Linked DNA regions of Homo sapiens: regions 2 and 3 are each linked to region 1. The links are contacts of gene promoters, found by promoter capture Hi-C in blood cells and fetal thymus (Javierre and others, 2016). All regions are on one chromosome and are shown on one strand. The core of a region is centred on a gene start or on the middle of the fragment in contact, and the rest is flanking DNA. Distances in the headings are between cores, read along the strand shown.

Region 1 (4,316 bases), core at 935-3,434:
TTATTTATCCCAAGGAGGAGTTGAGGTGGGAGGGGAGAACTGGGGCTGAGCTGGGGCGCGGGCTTGTGGGGACCGCCTGGGAAGCCCTGTCATCCCGTCCCAAGGAGAGGTGCTCCCCCAGCTGATTCCAAGGCGGCGCCCAGCTGCTCTGCCCAGGTAACACCTGTAGCCATTTTTATCAGGAGATGTTTACGAAGCAGCAGCAGGTTTATTCTGAGTCCTCTCTCCTGAGGGAAAGGACCACTGATTTCCTCCACCTATATTTTTACCCCATGCCCTCAGGAGACCCAGGTCATGGATGGTTTTCTATTTTGCCCGAGACTCTCTGAGAAGAGGAGGGAAACAGAAACTTGGGAAGAGATGGAGAAGACAGGGAGAGAAGGGACTTGGGCAATGGTACGGAATCCCCACCCCCCACCCAGACATTTATTTCTTTTTTATCCTCAGGAAAATGGAGTGGAGCAGGGAGGGGAGGAAAGAAGGGGAAGTCGCAGGAACTGGCAAACACATGAAGGCGGAGTGTAATTAATTGGTGCGTTAAGCTGCTGGGTTATGCTTTAGTACGAGTGAGCCAGGAGGAAAAGCGATTTCTCAGAAGGGATTATTGAATCCTCCCTAACAGAGAGTCTGCAAATTAGACACAGTGTGTGGGGATGTCCCCTACCCCCCAGAGGAAGCTAGGAATGAATTCTCCCGGGATCAAGAAGGAAAACCACGGGAAGTTAGAGTGTTGAATATAACTGAGCAAGCGCCTCTCACCACCACCACCACCTCTCTCTCCCAGTCTCCCTCCCAATCTCTCAATCTCTCTCTCTCTCTCTCTCTCTCTCTCTCTCTCTCAATCTCTCTCTCTCACAATCCCCCTCTCTCAATCCCTCTCTTGCTACCTACATATTCCTTTTGTTCAAGGTATAAAGAGAAACCACAGCCCCTACCTTTGAGTACAAACCCCAAGAGAGCTCGGTCTCTATCACCATAACAACAATTCCAAACATCCCAAAAATCAGAGCATAGTCACTCAGTCGCTTTCTCTTTTCAAACAGGGCCCTCCTGTGTCCCAGCTTATAGCCAATGTTTTGGTTTTTCCGCTTGTTGGCTTTGGGGAAGGTGGTGCTGCTGGCGGTGGTGCCGGCATGCTGGTGGTTGTGGGTGGCATTAGGGTGATGGAGCAGGGTCTGGTGGGCATGGTTGTCCTCCCGGGAGGAGATGACGATCTCCGGGGGGTTGCTAGGGCTGAAAAGCTGGAGGGGTTGGCCCTCAGTCTCGGCCTCGATGAGGTTCCTCCGGGAGGCGCTGAGGCGGCTGAGGGGCTTCATGACCCCACCGCTATACTTGCAGGAGCTCATGGCGATCTCCGTGAAGGGGTTGCTGTCCCGCCGGTGCACCAGGGGGCTGGCCTGTCGGTGCCGGCTGCCTCCGCCAGGCCCACTTGTAGCTGTGGAACTTGGAGAGTGGCCAAGCAAGTGGTCATTGAGATTGAGCTGGCTGCCTTGCCTGGAGGAAGGGTGGAGGATGGCGGTGGAGTTGGACGAAGGGGGGGCCCTGAAAGCGGTGGGAGAGGAGTGCAGCAGGCCAGGGTGGACGGGCTGGCTCTGGAGTTGGGCGAGCTGAGACAGGGGATGCGGTGGCTGCTGCTGCTGCTGCTGCTGCTGCTGCTGCTGCTGCTGCTGAAGCTGCGGAGGCTGAGGCTGCAGCGAGGGTCCCAGGGGCTGCTGGGGGGCTGCTGGTGGCGCTGGCGGTGGTGGCTGCTGCTGCTGTTGCTGCTGCTGCTGCTGCTGCTGCTCATCCCCAGAGGATGGACAGGGGCACTTGGGGTCTTCATCCAAGTCCCCCACCCCCGAGTCATGGAAGTGCCCAGAAGTGTCCATCTTGGGGCCTGGCTGTATTCCCTGCAGCACAAGCCCCCACCCCAAAGCCACCCTCGCTCCAAAGATGTCCTCAAAGAAAGCCAGGCATCCAATCTCCCCCACCAGTATCTTGGCTCCAGTCCTCTCTTTGGCTTGCTTCGGTTCTCTGGGGCTGCCTGGAGTCCAGACGCTGCCACTCAAGAATGCATTGTATTGGGCAGGGAGGGAGAGCAGGAGGGGAGCTTGGAGAAAGAAGAGGGGGTGAAAGAACTCTCTCAGGAGGTGGTCCTCTAGGAGCGTGTGAGGCCAGGCTCAGCTTCACTCCTCGCTGGCTCAATAGCTTCGCTCGCCTCCTCCTGCCACTGTTACATTGTAAGCCAAGCCCACTTATTAGCAGCTGGTCTCATTGGCTTGGCTTAACTCTCCAACCTCCTCCTAGCTCCGCCCCCCGCATAGGCTCCTCCCCAGAGGAGGGGCCTGGCGTCCTGGGCTCCGGCCCCAGTGGCGGCGCAGCGAGGACTGGGAACTGTAGTTTTTGCTCCCCCACCCCGGAGCTGAGCCGCTGTCCTCTTTCCTCTGACAGGTATGGCCACAACCCTTAAGCCCACGGCGATAAGGGATGTTCGCTCACGCTGGGCGATGGGGAGGAGGGACAGAGGGCCTCCGAAGGAGGGGAGGTGTGCACCCTGATGAGGGGGCAGACGGAGGGGAAGGCAAACATTTATTAACCACCAGGGTTTACGATAGGTTGTTTCACATATATTATCCGGATACAGTCTCCAAACACCCAAGGAGGTGGGCAGTATGGTCTCATTTACAAAGCCTGATGCTTAGAGGTGTTGAGTAACAACGTCAAGGTCACAGAAGCAGGGGGGATCCACACCTTCTAACACCCGGTGGATAAACTCACCTACCATTGACTGAGTGCCTACGCCTCGTGTTCAGGGTCCTCTCTGTTATTTCCAACCCTCACATCAACCCCACAAAAATGATGTCATCACTCTCCTTTTACAGATGAAAATTGGAAGAAGAAGAAGAAGAAGGAGAAGGAGAAGAAGGAGAGAAAGGAAAGTGGAAAAAACACTCAAACGCTCAAACATAGATATGTAACTTGTCAGATGTCATCCCGCTTGTAATTAAAGATGCTGGGATTTGAACTTAGTCAGTCTGACCCCACAGATCAGATACTTTCTCCCAGGATGCATTTCCACTATGATATTCAGTACAAAGTGGTTGTTCAATAAATATTGTTCAAATGTTAGTTGGGGAAAACAAAAGAGAAGCTGCTGAGGAAGAACTGGCCTCTCCAAAGCAGGGTGTGTGAAGTGGACCATGGCTCCAGCCCCTTCCCTAACAGCTGGGTGTGTAGTCACAGGGGGATCTGGCAGGAAGACTGAAGATTCCCCCATGGTCATTCCCTGCCTGATTTGCCCCATGGGGCTCTGAGAGTCAGAACTAGGAACAGCTGCTGGCTTCCCAGGTTCAGAACCATCATCATCAAGTATTTATTAAGCCCCCACTGTGTGCAGAGGGGGTTCCAAAGGATGGGACCAGAGCTGAATTCATTTTCATTTCTAACCACAGCAGCCTTAGGAATCAGAAAGGAAGTCACCATGAGGGAATTCCCCAGAACACCTGGGGTTTTAAAAGGCAGGCCTCTTCCTCTCTGGCTCTTGATTCCCCATCACCCTTTGGCCTCTGTCCAGCTCCCTCCCTCGATGGGAAGAGGAAAGGGTAGGAGATCCATGCACACATACACAGACACACATCCAGAAAACATGTAAGCAGGTGGACATATGTGCACATGTGTACATGGTTGTGTGCACACACTAGCCCATGCATGCACACATGCACACATATACACATAGGAAGCTCCTAAAACAGCATTCCTGACTGGTAAGCAGCAAGTGTCCAGATCAGGGAGGGACAGAGCCCCCCCAAAATGAGCCCAGAGTCCCCTCTGTATATCAGTTCTCACCTCTCCAATCCCCCATTAACCCTGATGATTGAGAGCTAAATATTACTTGTAATACAAGCCACGACCCCAGATACGTGACAATTACTCTTGCACAATAATCTTGATTCTGGCCAGGCATGGTGGCTCATGCCTATAATCCCAGCACTTTGGGAGCCCAAGGCAGGAGGGTTGATTGAAGTCAGGAGTTCGAGACCAGCCTGGACAACATAGCAAGACCCAGACTCTACAAAATTTTTTAAATTAGCTGGACATGGTGGCGAGTGCCTGTAGTCCAGCTACCCAGGAGGCTGAGGGAGGAGGACTGCTTGAGCCCAAGAGTTTGAGGCTGCAGTGAGCTGTGATAGCGCCACTGCACTTCAACCTGGGCGACAGAGTGTTACCCTGTCTCTAAATATATATATATATAAAATAATAATCTTGATATCAATGACATAATCATTTCCCCTACCCCTGCCAACACACACACACACACACACACACACACACACACA
Region 2 (4,139 bases), core at 153-2,652, 270 kb before region 1:
TAGGAGATGACGGCCCCCATGCATGTTATTGCCCCTGAACACCTTACAGTGGGACAAGACGTGGAGGTGGAAGACAGTGATACTGAGGATCCTGACCCTGTGTAGGCCTAGGCTAACAGCTAATGTATTTTCATCTTAGCTTTCAACAAAAAAGTTTAAAAAGTTAAAAAAATAAAAAAATTTACAAACAGAAAAAAGACTATAGAATTAAGGATATAAACAAAGGAAATATTTTTGGATAGCAGTACAACATGTTTGTGTTTTAAGCTAAGTATTATTACAAAAGGAACAAAAAATAAAAAAGTTAATAAAGTAAAAAATAAAGTAAAAATAAAGTAAAAAAGTTACAGTAAGCTAAGGTTAATTTATTAAAGAAAAATATTTTAAATAAATGTAGTTAGCCTAAGTGAACAGTGTTTACAAAGCCTACATTAGTGTACAGTCATGTCCTAGGCCCTCATATTCATTCTCCACTCACTGGCTGACTCACCCACAGCAACTTCTAGTCCTGCAAGCTCCATTCATGGCAGGCGCCCTATACAGGTGTAGTATTTTTTTAATCCTTTATGCTGTCTTTTTACTGTATCTTTTTGCTGTTTAGATAGACACCAATACTTACCAGTGTGTTGCAGCTGCCCACAGTATTCACTACAGTTACATGCTGTACAGGTTTGTAGCCTAGGAGCAACCGGCCATACCATACAGCCTGTACGTGTGTAGGAGCCCATGCCATCTAGGTTTATGTAAATACACACTGATGTTCTCACAACAACAAAACCATGCTTCTCAGACCGCATCCCAGTTGCTAATGCAGGGCTATAGTAATATATGGGTCTAGGGAGGGAAACTAGAAGTCTGAGACGGAAATGAGACTTTTCATTGAAATGACTACTTTTTCAATCAGCTTGAATGATTTTTTTCAAGATGGAGTCTTGCTCTGTTGCTCAGGCTGGAGTGCAGTGGTGCGATCTCAGCTCACTGCAACCTCCGCCTCCCAGCTTCAATCAATTCTCCTGTCTGCCTCCCGAGTAGCTGGGATTACAGGCACCCGCTGCCACGCCCAGCTAATTTTTGTATTTTTAGTAGAGACAGGGTTTCCTCATATGGTCCGGCTGGTCTTGAACTCCCGACCTCAGGTAATCTACCTGCCTCAACTTCCCAAAGTGCTGGGATTACAGGCGTGAGCCACCATGTCTGGCCTGAATGATTTTTTAATGTACCTATACATTTCTTTAAAAATTAAAACTAGTCAAAAAATTAAAAAGGATCATGCTTACTGGAAGAGTGAACGCATTCACTCTTGGCAGGTCTATTGTCTTCTAAGAGGCCGTGGAGACAGGGCTGGACTTGTTTCCCTCAACTCGCCCCTTCTGTCCTACACAGCTAAAGCACACCCTTGTTTTCCCTGGGTTACAGACCATCCCCAACTGGTGACACATGCATTAGCCAGGACTAGGACACTCACTTGGGCTCGTGAGGAGGTCCGGACTGGTCGACCAACTTGAATTCAGCAGCAAAGCCATGGGAGCGGGCGTACTCCAAAAGGCCACCCACAGGGTTGGTGTTCAGGTATCTCACGAGCTCGCCAATCTTCCTGACCTTGTTGGGCATCATGGATTCCAAGTTATCAAGTGACTCTGAGATCATACCTTCAGGCTAAAGGAGAATCCATCAAACAGAGGAGCCATAAACACTTCAGGAAATGTTGAGGGAGTCACTGGCAATCTTAAACCACTCAGTTGCTAAAAATGACCTGTATCTTTTGAGTAGGAAAACGCCCTACCTGGTTATCAGAAGCCATGGAGTTGGTCGCCTCCCCATGCAGGGCCTTCATGGCTTCCTCTGCGGCCATCTGCTTTGCCACTTTCTTGCTGGGAGCACTCACACTGGGGAAAGTTTGGGCTCCCACTGCAACACAGTATTGGAACCTGACAGGAGATGAAGCACGTAGAAGGATTAAAATGGTTTTGACTGAGGAGCCTGACCTAGCCTCTGCCAGGCTGCCATCCTCCACTACTGGTAATTTCCTTGAACACATCACCTCTGTGCAGTCACATCTCATGCAGTCACTTCTGCCTTGAACAGCCAGTGTCTCTTAGCCTGGCTGACCCCTTTCAACATTTAAGCATCAACCTAGTTTCACCTCTTCCAGGAACACTTCTCTTGAACATGTGAGTCTATAGACCCACAGGCAGAGAGCTTCTCAGGTCCTGTACCTTTCTGTCCCACCAACAGTGAGTGACCTCCAAGCCGTGAACCTCCCTAGTGCTTATAGAGGAGATAGAGGGTGGGCCAGGAATTCCCTTTGAATTCCTAATCCCTAATTGTCTGCCTCACAAGCAGCAACCAGGACCTCAGAGCCCTCCTTTCCCCATTTTGAAACAGGAGAAATTGGTCAATCTGCCATCCCTGAGGAGGCAAGGAAGAAAATGTGTCTCTTTTTCTTTCTGAGAAAACCTCAGCTGGACAGAGGACACGTAGGACATACTTGGGTTCATGGGCAGGGCCTTCTTTGGACAGGAGACGGAATTCGCAGGAGTTCCCCAATTTGTGCATACACTCAAGCAGTGTGGTGACGGGGCTCTTCCCAGAAAAGAAGGATGTGGCTGAAGGGGTGGGGGTCTGGGACTCTGCAGTCTAGAGAAAATGAGAGACAAGAAGAAAACAAAACTAAGAAAACACTGGTTAGTCCATCACAGAAGAAGGGATGGGGATGGGGGACTTTATTCCCACCACCTGTCAAGGGGTTGGCTTCCCAAAGTTAAAGGGGCTGCTGGAGCTCTCATTCCGCATCTTCCAAGAGAGGAGATTGGCCTCAATAAACTTTCAGGTCTCTTTCAAGTCCGAAATTCTGTAAATCCAATTATGTTGGGACAGGAGCAGACAGAGGAGCTGGGTATGAGAGGAGGAAAGGTGGGCTGGCGAGATAGGGTAGAGGGAAGAGTGGGAAGCTGACTCCGAGATGGTGTCAGTTGTTTAGGCTGGGATTGCCTCAAGGGAGTCAGTTACAATCCAGACACTGACAGGGAACTGATCCTCCCAGATGGCAGGAGGACACCTACCTTCTCTGATTCTTTCTCTGTGGAATAGTGGGATGATTCTTCTGATTTTCCACTGTCCTTGGCTTTGGCTTCCTCTAGCAGAATTGTCATGGCTTTCATAGCTGCATCCTGCTTGGCCACTTTCTTGCTTCCAGCTTCAGCTGGGGGAAACTCTCGGCCATTGATGACAACCTGGAATTTAAATCTTGACGGAAAGTGATTAGATGTGTGAACAGGAGTCTAGGTCACTCCTTCTGCCTTCTCCAAAGAGACCTTCAACCTGGAATTTTCTGCTACGCTAAGGGGCTTTTCACTTGTGGAGATGAAGGGTAGGCCAAGGAACTCCTTCCTACTCCTTAAGGCTCAGCCTGTCCTTTCTTTTTGTAAACAAAGCAGCCAGTGACTCTTTCCCCATAGCTCAGTGAAGCAAACATAGGCACAGATGATAGGAAACTAGCTCAGGGGAAACCCACTATCTCTTTAACAATGAATTAAGATAAAACCCACACACACAAAAATGATGAGCCAAAAATTACCATTATAGTCTTGTGAGCAACCAAAAGACCTTCATTCTAAAGCAATTGTGGTAGACTGGCCTCCTCAAGGGAGGGTCCTAAAAGATAGTGAAGGCTTCTTATAACCCAGTCTCACACTCCCCACTACCTAGGGGGATCAGGCATCTGCCACTTATCAGTGGCCTGCTTTTGTCCCTAGACCTATATCACCGTAGTTTGTTATGAGTCACTCTATAGCACCATTTGTCTCCAGCTATTTTCTACATAACAAGGAATTTCCCCTTGTTATGTAGAAAATAAAAAAGCATTTGTTCTAGGCCTCTGGACTTAGCCTAGGCCCCCTTTGTTCAAGCTTTCAAATGTGGTGAGCTCTTTGCTCAGTCTGGGATTTCATTTAGAAAAGTAGGTCAAATTTCTTATTTCCTAGGTCTTCTGATATATTTGAACATGGCACCAATGTTTCTTTTAGTGTGAGTCCAAAGAATGACTAACCACAAAATCCACTGCTTTCCTCCAACTCTGGGGAGGAGGGATGGAGGCAAAAGAGAATGACGGCCATCCAGTCTCTACCCCAAACAATCCA
Region 3 (4,224 bases), core at 86-2,585, 340 kb before region 1:
TCTTGTTACGTTGCTAGACTAGATTTTGTATACACCTTGTGTTTTAACTGGCTTCCTCTGATGCTGCTCCCACAGGGGAACACGGTACTGCCTCGCTGCTGCCAGGTGAGGATGGAAGTCAGGCTCCCTACTCAGCCTCTAAGGCGGCAGCGAGCCCCTTGTTACTGCCAGTTCTAGTTTGTGGTCTCCACTGACATCTTGGCGTGGATGGCTTCATTACCGCTGAGGAAAGTCTTGACTCTCCACTACACTTCTGACACCCCCCCCAGTAGGGAGAGAGAGGGGGGCTTTCTCTCTGTGAGGTGGGTATGGAAGTCCAGGATTCCCAAGTGGTTTCTATTGACACCCAGGCAGGGTGGTGGTAGGGAGAGACCGGTTTCTTTATTGGGTAGGGGATGAAATTCCTGGCTGCCTGCTTGGCCCTTTGTGACACCATCAGGGTGGGGGTATTGGGCGACTCATCCCAGCCCCATGAGGGCAGAAGTCTGGGCCCTGCATGCTGTCTTTGTTGGCATGCGTGGAGGTGGGATCTCCTTGTTGGTGGCATTTAGCTGGAGTAAAGGAGTTATTATCTACAAGCTTTCTGTCTTCCTAGCCTGTCTCTTCTGGTGCTTTGGCTAGAAAGAGCAGGCTTTTGTTGGGTTTTTTTTTTTTTTTTTTCTGGACCTACTGGTGTTTCTGGGTTGCTGGCCTCTTCAATTCTAAGTTTGGAATATATAAAGCAAAAGGAAAACCCAGAGAAGTCATCACCACGTTGTACCCTGGGTTCCAAGGTCTCTGGTCAGCCTGTTCCCTTCTCTCCATCTTTCAGAGTCTTCTTATGTTTGTTTTACATGTAATGTCCTGGGCTCTTAGTTGTGTTTAACAAAACTAAGATGAAGTATGTATATTTCATCTTCTCAGAGTGGAGGTTCTAAGAATGGTTTTTATTTATTTATATTTTTAGAGCAGGGTCTTGCTCTGTTGCCCAGACTGGAGTGCAGTGGTGTGATCTGAACTTACTGCAGCCTCGAACTCCTGGGCTCAAGCAGTCCTGCCTCAGCCTCGTGAGTAGCTGGGACTACAGGCGTGTACCACCATGCCCAGCTGATTTGGCCTCAAGCAATCCTCCTGCTTTAGCCTCCCAAAGTGCTGGGATTGCAGGGCAGCCACTGTGCCCAGCCATATATATATATATATATATTTTTTTTTAATTTTCTATTGTTTGTAGAGATGGGGTCCCACTATGTTGCCCAAGCTGGTCTTGAACTCCTGGCAAGCAATCCTCGTGTCTCCACTTCCCAAACTGCTGGGATTATAGGCGTGAGACCCCCCAGCCGTATTTTTAAATGGGAAAAAAAATGAAGAATATTTCATGACACATGAAAATTGTATGAAATTCAGTTTGTGTCCATGAAACATTCCTGGCATGCAGCCTCAGCCATTTGTTTACAGATTGCCTGTGGCTGCTTCCTCACTACAGCAGCAGAGTGGACTCATGACAGACAGTAAGGCCCCCAAAATCTAAAATATTTACTATCTGGCCCTTTGCAGAAAAAGTTTGCCAGTTCCTGGGTTAAGATCTAGGCTATTTTTTAAAAAACAAAAATAAACAGGATGAAAATGCCTGGAAATCAATGCAAGAAAGAAACAACCTAATAGAAAAATGGGCAAGAGCTAGGAATAGGCACCTTTTGTAGGTGAAGATGCATAAAAGCCAGGCTGCAACTTTCCCGTTGCTTACCACGAGGTGGCAGTTTCTGACAACACCTGGTGGTTTTCCATAGCCTGCTCCGATCAAGTCAGCCACCTTTGATGCTCCTGGTTTCCATGGCTTTGCCCATCCTGGTAGAACTATCCGCTGAAGGAGTGGGGAGTGGGGAAGCCCCAGATGCTCACTGTTTTCGTACAAAGGTCAGTCGTTGTTGTTATTGTTTTCTTTTTAATAGATGTTTTCAATTTCTTGTATGCTTCAGTCAATTTCCAGAGTCCTGAAGTGATTGTTTTTGACAATTTGTCAAGATTTGTTATTGCTTTTTGGGGAGAGGATTTGTTGATTGAAATATTTTGTAGTGAAATTGTTTTAAAGAAAAGAAAAGGTAAAATTAGAAGATAAGCTTACGTGGCACAACACGCATCCAGGCAGTGTTCAGGTCAGCGTGGGGGAGAGATTATCAAATGATATAAGATAATTTCCCATGGGTGAAGGATGTGAGTTTTCAGATACAAAGCAGCCAATGAGTGCCCAGGATAATGAATGGGAAAATAAAAACCTACATGAAGGCACTTTACAGAAGTATTTTAGAATACTAGGGATAAAGCTTTAGGAAGAGAATCCACATTGAAGGATATGGAATCAGGTGGTGTGATTGAATTCTTCAGGAAAATAATATCCAAGCCCAAACAAGTCAGTCAAGAATAAGGGTAGCACTTTGGGAGGCCGAGGTGGGCGGATCACTTGAAGTCAGGAGTTTGAGACCAGCCTGGCTAACATGGTGAAACTCCATCTCTATTAAAAATACAAAAATTAGCCAAGCGTGGTGGTGCACACCTGTAATTCCAGCTACTCGGGAGGCTGAGGCAGGAGAATCCCTGGAACCTGGGAGGCAGAGGTTGCAGTGAGCTGAGATCATGCCACTGCACTCCAGCCTGGGCATCAGAGTGAGACTCCATCTCAAGAAAAAAAAAAAAAGAGAGAGAGAATATAAGGGTAAGCCATCTGCAGTGGTGTGTACCTGTAATCCCAGTGCTTTGGAATTTGGGATTTGGGAAGCTGAGGTGGGAGGATTGCTTCAGGCCAGGAGTTTGAGAACATCCTGGGCAACCCTGTCGACAAAAAATGTGCCGGGTGTGGTGGCACACACATGTAGTCCCAGCTACTGGTGAGGCTGAGATGGGAGGATCACTTGACCTGAAGGAGTTTGAGGTTGCAGTGAGCTATGATTGTGCCAGCACTCCAGCCTGGGTAACAAAGTAAGACACTGTCACTTTTAAAAAAAGGTTGAAAAAGACTTGCTCAGAAAGATAGGGTCTCAAAAAATGTGTGCCCCATGTACCTGTTCTCAGAAAGCTATGAAGGAGTGTGTTCCAACAAAAATGAATCAGTAAGCCAAAACAAGACGGGATCTGGTATCCAACCCAGATCCAAGAGGAGAGAGATGAGAGGCTTCCCAGATTGGCCAAAGGCAGTCCTGGAACAGTTGCTGTGCAGCAGGCAGTCCAGGGCAGAGCAGGACGGGGTGAGACTCCAGCGGTGACGTTGGCAGGAAGAAAAATGTAAAATTGAGAGGAGCGGTATTATGAAGAGCCACTGGAGGTTATAGGAAAACTTAGCCAAAGATTCAAGGAAATCCAAGTAAATGGACTGGGGAAAAAGCAGCAGTTAATTCCTAAGAAAAGGTTGCAGGCCGGGCGCAGTGGCTCACGCCTGTAATCCCAGCACTTTGGGAGGCCGAGGTGGGTGGATCATGAGGTCAGGTGTTCGAGACCAGCCTGGCCAACATGGTGAAACCCCGTCTCTACTAAAAATACAAAAATTAGCTGGGCGTGGTGGCACATGCCTGTAATCCTAGCTACTCAGGAGGGTGAGGCAGGAGATTTGCTTGAACTTGGGAGGCAGAGGTTGCGGTGAGCTGAGATTGTGCCGTTGCACTCCAGCCTGGACAACAAGAGCGAAACTCCATCTTAACAAAGTTGCTTAAGAATAAAAATAACACATAACTTGATTCAATAGGATTTGCAGTCACATAATAATGAGAACACTGGAGGCTTTGAGCAGGGGGTGACATAGCCAGATAGAACCCATTCTTATATTTTAGAAAATCAACTTTGTTGAAGTATTCGATATACTTACTGAAGTATAATTTACTTAAAGTGAACCCATTTAAGTGTACAGCTTGACGAATTTTGACCAGTGCGTGCAGCATGTAACCACTGTCACAATCAAGATAGAGAACATTTCAGTCGCCCAAAAGATTCCCCCTTCAGGGCCCCCAGCAGCCCTCAGCTGTTGTCCATCCTTTCGATGAGATGGAGCTTTTCCAGCGTGTCCTGTAAATGGCATCAGGCTGTGCGTGCTTCTTTGTGTCTGGCTTCTTTCATTCAGTGGAATGTTATTGAGATGCATCCATGTGGTTGCACCATCAGCAGTTCTTTTTTTATTGCCAAGTGATATTCTGTTGTATCATGTGCCACCATTTATTCGTCCTTGCACCTAGATTTAACTTTTAAAGGGACCCTTTAGAA

Evidence for each region. The method cuts DNA at HindIII sites, captures the fragments that hold promoters and counts their contacts. A CHiCAGO score of 5 or more calls a contact.
Region 2: a fragment that was not itself captured here is called in contact with the fragment with the promoter of KCNN3 in region 1 in 8 of 17 cell types (activated CD4 T cells, M0 macrophages, naive CD4 T cells and 5 more); the score reaches 7.3 in activated CD4 T cells.
Region 3: a fragment that was not itself captured here is called in contact with the fragment with the promoter of KCNN3 in region 1 in 9 of 17 cell types (M1 macrophages, M0 macrophages, M2 macrophages and 6 more); the score reaches 9.2 in M1 macrophages.

Annotation. Positions count from the first base shown.
Region 1 is chr1:154,868,097-154,872,412 of GRCh38, forward strand. It overlaps KCNN3 (potassium calcium-activated channel subfamily N member 3), which reads right to left and starts at 2,185. Exons shown (of 8, transcript NM_002249.6): 1 at 936-2,185. The coding sequence starts at 1,868. RefSeq lists enhancers at 9-528, 1,936-2,892, 1,965-2,054. The HindIII fragment of the contact is 14,105 bases long and covers 1-4,316 here.
Region 2 is chr1:154,595,340-154,599,478 of GRCh38, forward strand. It overlaps ADAR (adenosine deaminase RNA specific), which reads right to left. Exons shown (of 15, transcript NM_001111.5): 3 at 3,063-3,246; 4 at 2,489-2,637; 5 at 1,784-1,928; 6 at 1,466-1,656. Among named protein-coding and RNA genes, the nearest start is that of ADAR, 11 kb to the right of the region's middle. The HindIII fragment of the contact is 5,008 bases long and covers 1-3,906 here.
Region 3 is chr1:154,532,712-154,536,935 of GRCh38, forward strand. All of the region lies in intron 6 of TDRD10 (tudor domain containing 10), which reads left to right. Among named protein-coding and RNA genes, the nearest start is that of UBE2Q1-AS1, 19 kb to the right of the region's middle. The HindIII fragment of the contact is 1,517 bases long and covers 578-2,094 here.